2 separate regions of the Homo sapiens genome follow, and region 2 is linked to region 1. Evidence: promoter capture Hi-C in human tissues and cell types (Jung and others, 2019). All regions are on one chromosome and are shown on one strand. The core of a region is centred on a gene start or on the middle of the fragment in contact, and the rest is flanking DNA. Distances in the headings are between cores, read along the strand shown. Region 1 holds the start of EIF4A1 (eukaryotic translation initiation factor 4A1). Region 2 has its middle 130 kb from the start of WSCD1.

Region 1 (2,955 bases), core at 204-2,703:
GTACTGCAAGCATCTGGCCCTGTCTCAGCCATTCAGCTTCACCCAGCAGGACATGCCCAAACTTCGTCGGCAGATCTACAAGGAGCTGTGTCACTGCAAACTCACTGTGTGAGCCTCGTACCCCAGACCCCAAGCCCATAAATGGGAAGGGAGACATGGGAGTCCCTTCCCAAGAAACTCCAGTTCCTTTCCTCTCTTGCCTCTTCCCACTCACTTCCCTTTGGTTTTTCATATTTAAATGTTTCAATTTCTGTATTTTTTTTTCTTTGAGAGAATACTTGTTGATTTCTGATGTGCAGGGGGTGGCTACAGAAAAGCCCCTTTCTTCCTCTGTTTGCAGGGGAGTGTGGCCCTGTGGCCTGGGTGGAGCAGTCATCCTCCCCCTTCCCCGTGCAGGGAGCAGGAAATCAGTGCTGGGGGTGGTGGGCGGACAATAGGATCACTGCCTGCCAGATCTTCAAACTTTTATATATATATATATATATATATATATATATATATATATATATATATATATATATATATATATATATATATAAAAATATATAAATGCCACGGTCCTGCTCTGGTCAATAAAGGATCCTTTGTTGATACGTAAGTGGTGGTCTTCCTTAAGGGGCTTCAAATTAGTGGATATGCTTAGCTCAGACCTTCCAGCCAGTCTCTTGAGACTAAAGGGTTCAGCTTTCCATCCCTGGCTCAGGCACTGCCAACACCTTGTCTTCACCCAAACAAATCCCCGAGATGGGAGCAGAGAGCAGGAAGGAGGGAAAGTAGATAAGCCTCAAGAATAAGGGCATCCGAGAGGGAAGCTGGGGAACTGGACACAAGGGACTGGGGAGGGGACCAACCAGGATTCATGATAGTACCCCAAAGCCCTTTACAGTTTTCTTCCATCCCTCCACCATCCAGCCAGGGGAATCCTCCCATCCCTACGATATCGCTGTTGATTCCTTCATCCCTGGCACACGTCCAGGCAGTGTCGAATCCATCTCTGCTACAGGGGAAAACAAATAACATTTGAGTCCAGTGGAGACCGGGAGCAGAAGTAAAGGGAAGTGATAACCCCCAGAGCCCGGAAGCCTCTGGAGGCTGAGACCTCGCCCCCCTTGCGTGATAGGGCCTACGGAGCCACATGACCAAGGCACTGTCGCCTCCGCACGTGTGAGAGTGCAGGGCCCCAAGATGGCTGCCAGGCCTCGAGGCCTGACTCTTCTATGTCACTTCCGTACCGGCGAGAAAGGCGGGCCCTCCAGCCAATGAGGCTGCGGGGCGGGCCTTCACCTTGATAGGCACTCGAGTTATCCAATGGTGCCTGCGGGCCGGAGCGACTAGGAACTAACGTCATGCCGAGTTGCTGAGCGCCGGCAGGCGGGGCCGGGGCGGCCAAACCAATGCGATGGCCGGGGCGGAGTCGGGCGCTCTATAAGTTGTCGATAGGCGGGCACTCCGCCCTAGTTTCTAAGGATCATGTCTGCGAGCCAGGATTCCCGGTAAGAAAGGCATTTGCAAGAGATTGTGGCTGCTTATTTTGCCGCCCCCTTCCGACGGGCCCGCCGGGGGTAGCTGAGAGGCCCACCAGGGTTGCGGGAGAAACCGAACCGGGTGGGGGGAGGGTCCGACTTGGAGGGGCGAGGGGGAAGACCCACGGCCGACGCGGCCACCAGGTCGAGGCGGAGGGTAGGGACAGCCCGGCTAGGGTCAGGCGTGCGAGGTCTGTTACGAGGCCTCGACCCGAGGCGGTGCCATGCGCGAAGCCCCGGCGCTGAGTGGCGAGACGGGGTCGCGACCTGGCGTGGGAAAGAAAGGTGGAGGCGGCCGCCACTATGTGTGGCCCAGAGCCGGCAGGTCCGGTTGCCTCCCTGTGCCGGGGGAGGGACGGCGCGCGGGGTTCCGGAGCATTCTGACGGTACCACTCGCGAGAGGCGGGGGTGCCTGGTCCTTAGATCCAGTCACTTCGTCGCGGCTAAAACACGGGTCGGGGAGAAGAAACCGGCCGTTCAGTGTGCTGGTTTTCTTGACGGCCAGGACTGAGCCTAACCCCGAGGAGCGGCCGCGTGAGGCACCAGGAGCCCACCCGGCGCCGGGCGGGCGGGTCCATTTTGCCGCACAAGCCGGGCTATTGGCAAACTGCGGATGGGCAGGTCCACCTTCCTTCGGGGGTGAGCGGCCTGAGGTATGGGAGGGCGACGCTACTTCGCGACGGGGGCGGGCGGGATGTGGATTGTTCATGGAGGGGTGGGAGACGCCGCCGGGTGGTCGAGGGAGCGAGCACATGGTGGCCTGAGGCGTTCCCCTCCCCCAGTCTGCTTCGCTTCTAAGTGTTGTGCAATCTCCCCCTTTGCTAGCTCGGCTTGGGCTCATTGTGCGCGAGGCCGCCACCGCCCGCGGCCTCCCACATCCGGGCAACGCGAGGGGGGGGCTTCGGCTGGAGGGAGTGGGGGAGGGCGCGGGCGGGATGACGTGGGGGGAAGGGGATGTCCTACCCTCCGATCTGGGAGGTGAAGGGCGGGACTTCCAGCGCGCTGGTGCTGCGGTGGGAGGTGCACGCGCTTGGGCTTTAAGCGGCTGGGTCGGGCCCACGTGGACCCGGCGGCAAGCACCACCTCTGGGCACCGTGAGCGCGGCGGCACGCCTGCCGGCCTGTCTTCAGAAAGGGTCACCCCCTTATGTCGGGGGTGGCCTGGCCTGAGCCGCTGCCTGCATGGGGCAAATGCCTCAGTTTTATAGAAACTCCTCCTTTGGGTATTTTTTGGGAGCTGGTGGGAGTTGGATCTGGGACAGCAGATTGATGGCATCATGCAGGCCACTCCTGACAGAGCCCGGCTGTCAGGATTTCTGAGTGCTTCGGTCGGGCAGGGGACAAAACTTATGCTTTAAACCAACAGATCCAGAGACAATGGCCCCGATGGGATGGAGCCCGAAGGCGTCATCGAGGTGAGACTGGAGAAATGG
Region 2 (2,955 bases), core at 340-2,839, 1.4 Mb before region 1:
AGTCAGAAACTTTAAAAATTAAAGGTTTTTGTTATTTTTATTTTATTTTTGAGACAGAGTTTCACTCTTGTTGCCCAGGATGGAGTTCAGTCGTGTGATCTCAGCTCACTGCAACCTCCGCCTCCAGGTTCAAGTGATTCTCCTGCCTCAGCCTCCGAAGTATCTGGGATTACAGGTGTGCACCACCACACCTGGCTAATTTTTGTATTTTTAGTAGAGATGGGGTTTCACCATGTTGGCCAGGCTGGTCTCAAACTCCTGATCTCAGGTGATCTGCCCGCCTCAGCCTCCCAAAGTCCTGGGAGTACATGTGTGAGCCACCGTGCCCGTTCTTAAAAATTAAAGCTTATAAAATAAAAATGTTGCAATAAGCTATGGTTAATTCATTATTGAAGAAAAATATTTTAAAATAAATTTGAGTGTAGTTTAAGTGCACAGTATTTATGTAGTGTACAGTAATGTCCTAGACTTTCACATTCATGCCCACTCACCACTCACACACTGACTCTCCCAGAGCAAGTTCCAGTCCTGAAAGCTCCTGCATTTATAGTAAGTGCCCTTATCTCAGAACGGGGATATTCTCATCACTAGTTGTGGTAATATCCTCAGTTCACAAATTCAGCTGTGCAAAAATATAAAACTTAATTTTTCTATAATTCAACCTAATTTCTGTTTCAAGCTTCCCATTCAGCTGGTATAGAAACTTATGTCCTGTATAGAAGTGTCATTTTTTTTTTTTTTTTTTTGAGACAGAGTCTTGCTCTGTCGCCCAGGCTGGAGTGCAGTGGCGCGATCTCGGCTCACTGCCAGCTCTGCCTCCCGGGTTCACGCCATTCTCCTGCCTCAGCCTCCCGAGTAGCTGGGACTACAGGCGCCCGCCACCACACCTGGCTAATTTTTTGTATTTTTAGTAGAGACAGGGGTTTCACTGTGTTAGCCAGGATGGTCTCGATTTCCTGACCTCGTCATCCGCCTGCCTCGGACTCCCAAAGTGCTGGGATTACAGGCATGAGCCACTGCGCCCGGCCAGAAGTGTCATTTTTAAATAATCTTTTATGTCACACTTTTACTGTCTCTTTTCTATGTTTATATACACAAATACTTCCTATTGTGTTACAATTGCTGACAGTATTCAGTACACCACCGCGATGTCCAGGTTTGTAGCCTGGGAGCAGTAGGCTATATGCTATAGCCTTGGTATGTAATAGGCTATACTATCCAGGTTTCTGTGAAGTGCACGCGATGATGTTCACACAACGAAATTGTTTAACAGCACATTTCTCAGAGTGTATCCCAGTTTTTAAGTGATGCCTGACTATATTTCTTTTGCAGGTCTGTTATTGCTATTTATCTCTTTATTTGTAATACTTTGGTGTCATTTAGTTTTAGCTCTTTTGCTTTTAAATAGTACATGAGTTGCTCTTATATAAATAGTTATAGATGCTCTTAAATAGCAACCATTTTTTTAAAAATCAAATTTAAGAATCTCTTTTAATTGGTAAATTTAATATGTTTGCATTATGTAATAGATAATCTATATTTATTTCTGCTGTTTTATTTTGGTTTCCCAACTTCCTATTTTTTCTTTATTTTCCTTTCCTTGTTTCTCATGGGGTTGATCAAGTTGTTTTTGTTGTTATTTCAGATATGATATTTTTCCTGTGCTGGACTTAAAATTACATTTTCTATAACTTTATTAGCAAACATACATTTTTTAAGCAATTTCCAGCACAAATCTGTAAATACATCCCTCTGGTTGACTGAGATGAAACCTTAGCATAGTTTTATTATGAGTTGAGTTGGGTGAGGCCATGTCCACCCATTTTTCCCCCACCCCACCTTGATAACATCACCTAGAATTTTTATTTCAAATTGTTGACCACACCCCTTCCACTATATCAGCCCTCCTGAACATGGAGATGCAGCCGTGAAGACAGACAGGGAGACAATTACAGATTTCTTAACTCATTCAGGCAGCTATAACCAAATACCATAAACTGAATAGCTTATAAGTAACACAATTTTATTTCTCATGATTCTGAAGGCTGGGAAGTCCAAGATCAAGGCAACAGTAGATTCAGCGTGTGGTGAGGGCCTGCTTCCTGATCAATAGATGATGCCTTTTCACTGTGTCCTCACCGGATGGTGAGGGCCTGCTTCCTGATCAATAGATGATGCCTTTTCACTGTGTCCTCACCGGATGGTGAGGGCCTGCTTCCTGATCAATAGATGATGCCTTTTCACTGTGTCCTCACCGGATGGTGAGGGCCTGCTTCGTGGTCAATAGATGATGCCTTCTCATCATGTCCTTACATGGTAGGAGGGGCAAGGGATGTCCCTGCAGCCTTTTTTATCAGGGCACTAACCCCATTCATGAGGGCTCCACCCTCCTGACCTAATCACCTCCCAAAGGCCCCACCTCCTCATACTATCATCTTGGGGGTGAGGATTTCAACTTATGAACACAAACATTCAGACCATAGCAACTGAAAATAAGTTTCTATCCCAGCTGAATGGGACGCTTGAGACAGAAATTAGGTTGAATTACAGAAAAATAAAGTCTAATTTTTTTTGCTCAGCTGAGTTTATGAATTGAGAATATTACCACAATTAGTGACAAGCCTGTCCCCATTCTAAGATGAGAGCTCCCCTGGGGTGGAACTATGGCTGTTTCCTCTCTGGACTCCCAGTGCACAGGCCATTGCACAGAGTGGACAAAATGAAACATCTGGGAATGCTTCCTGGGTAGGAAAGAGGAAAGCACCTCAGTAGCCGAGAGCTGGCCTGGTATCCTCAGCTAGGCCTTGGTGCTCTACTGTTGAACATGGGCAATTTTGCAGGACATCAACATTGGACATGGAGACTCTGAGACTGTGATGCCTTAAGACCCAATCCAGACCCCTCATAATCATGTTTGAACAGAGTCAACATGAAACTTATCCAGAGGTGCATGAA

What was found. The method cuts DNA at HindIII sites, captures the fragments that hold promoters and counts their contacts. A contact is called where the count stands out against the background at its distance.
Region 2: a contact is called between a fragment that was not itself captured here and the fragment with the promoter of EIF4A1 in region 1, in 1 of the 25 tissues and cell types used here (esophagus).

Annotation. Positions count from the first base shown.
Region 1 is chr17:7,571,372-7,574,326 of GRCh38, forward strand. EIF4A1 (eukaryotic translation initiation factor 4A1) reads left to right here and starts at 1,454. Exons shown (of 11, transcript NM_001416.4): 1 at 1,454-1,493; 2 at 2,889-2,937. The coding sequence starts at 1,471. It overlaps SENP3 (SUMO specific peptidase 3), which reads left to right. Exons shown (of 11, transcript NM_015670.6): 11 at 2-598. The coding sequence ends at 112. It overlaps SENP3-EIF4A1 (SENP3-EIF4A1 readthrough (NMD candidate)), which reads left to right. Exons shown (of 22, transcript NR_037926.1): 11 at 2-108; 12 at 913-1,493; 13 at 2,889-2,937. RefSeq lists enhancers at 792-851, 882-931, 952-1,011, 1,132-1,201, 1,708-2,463 and 2 more and silencers at 1,372-1,431, 1,442-1,501, 2,402-2,541. The HindIII fragment of the contact is 10,064 bases long and covers 1-2,955 here.
Region 2 is chr17:6,198,235-6,201,189 of GRCh38, forward strand. No RefSeq gene overlaps it. Among named protein-coding and RNA genes, the nearest start is that of WSCD1, 130 kb to the left of the region's middle. The HindIII fragment of the contact is 5,717 bases long and covers 1-2,955 here.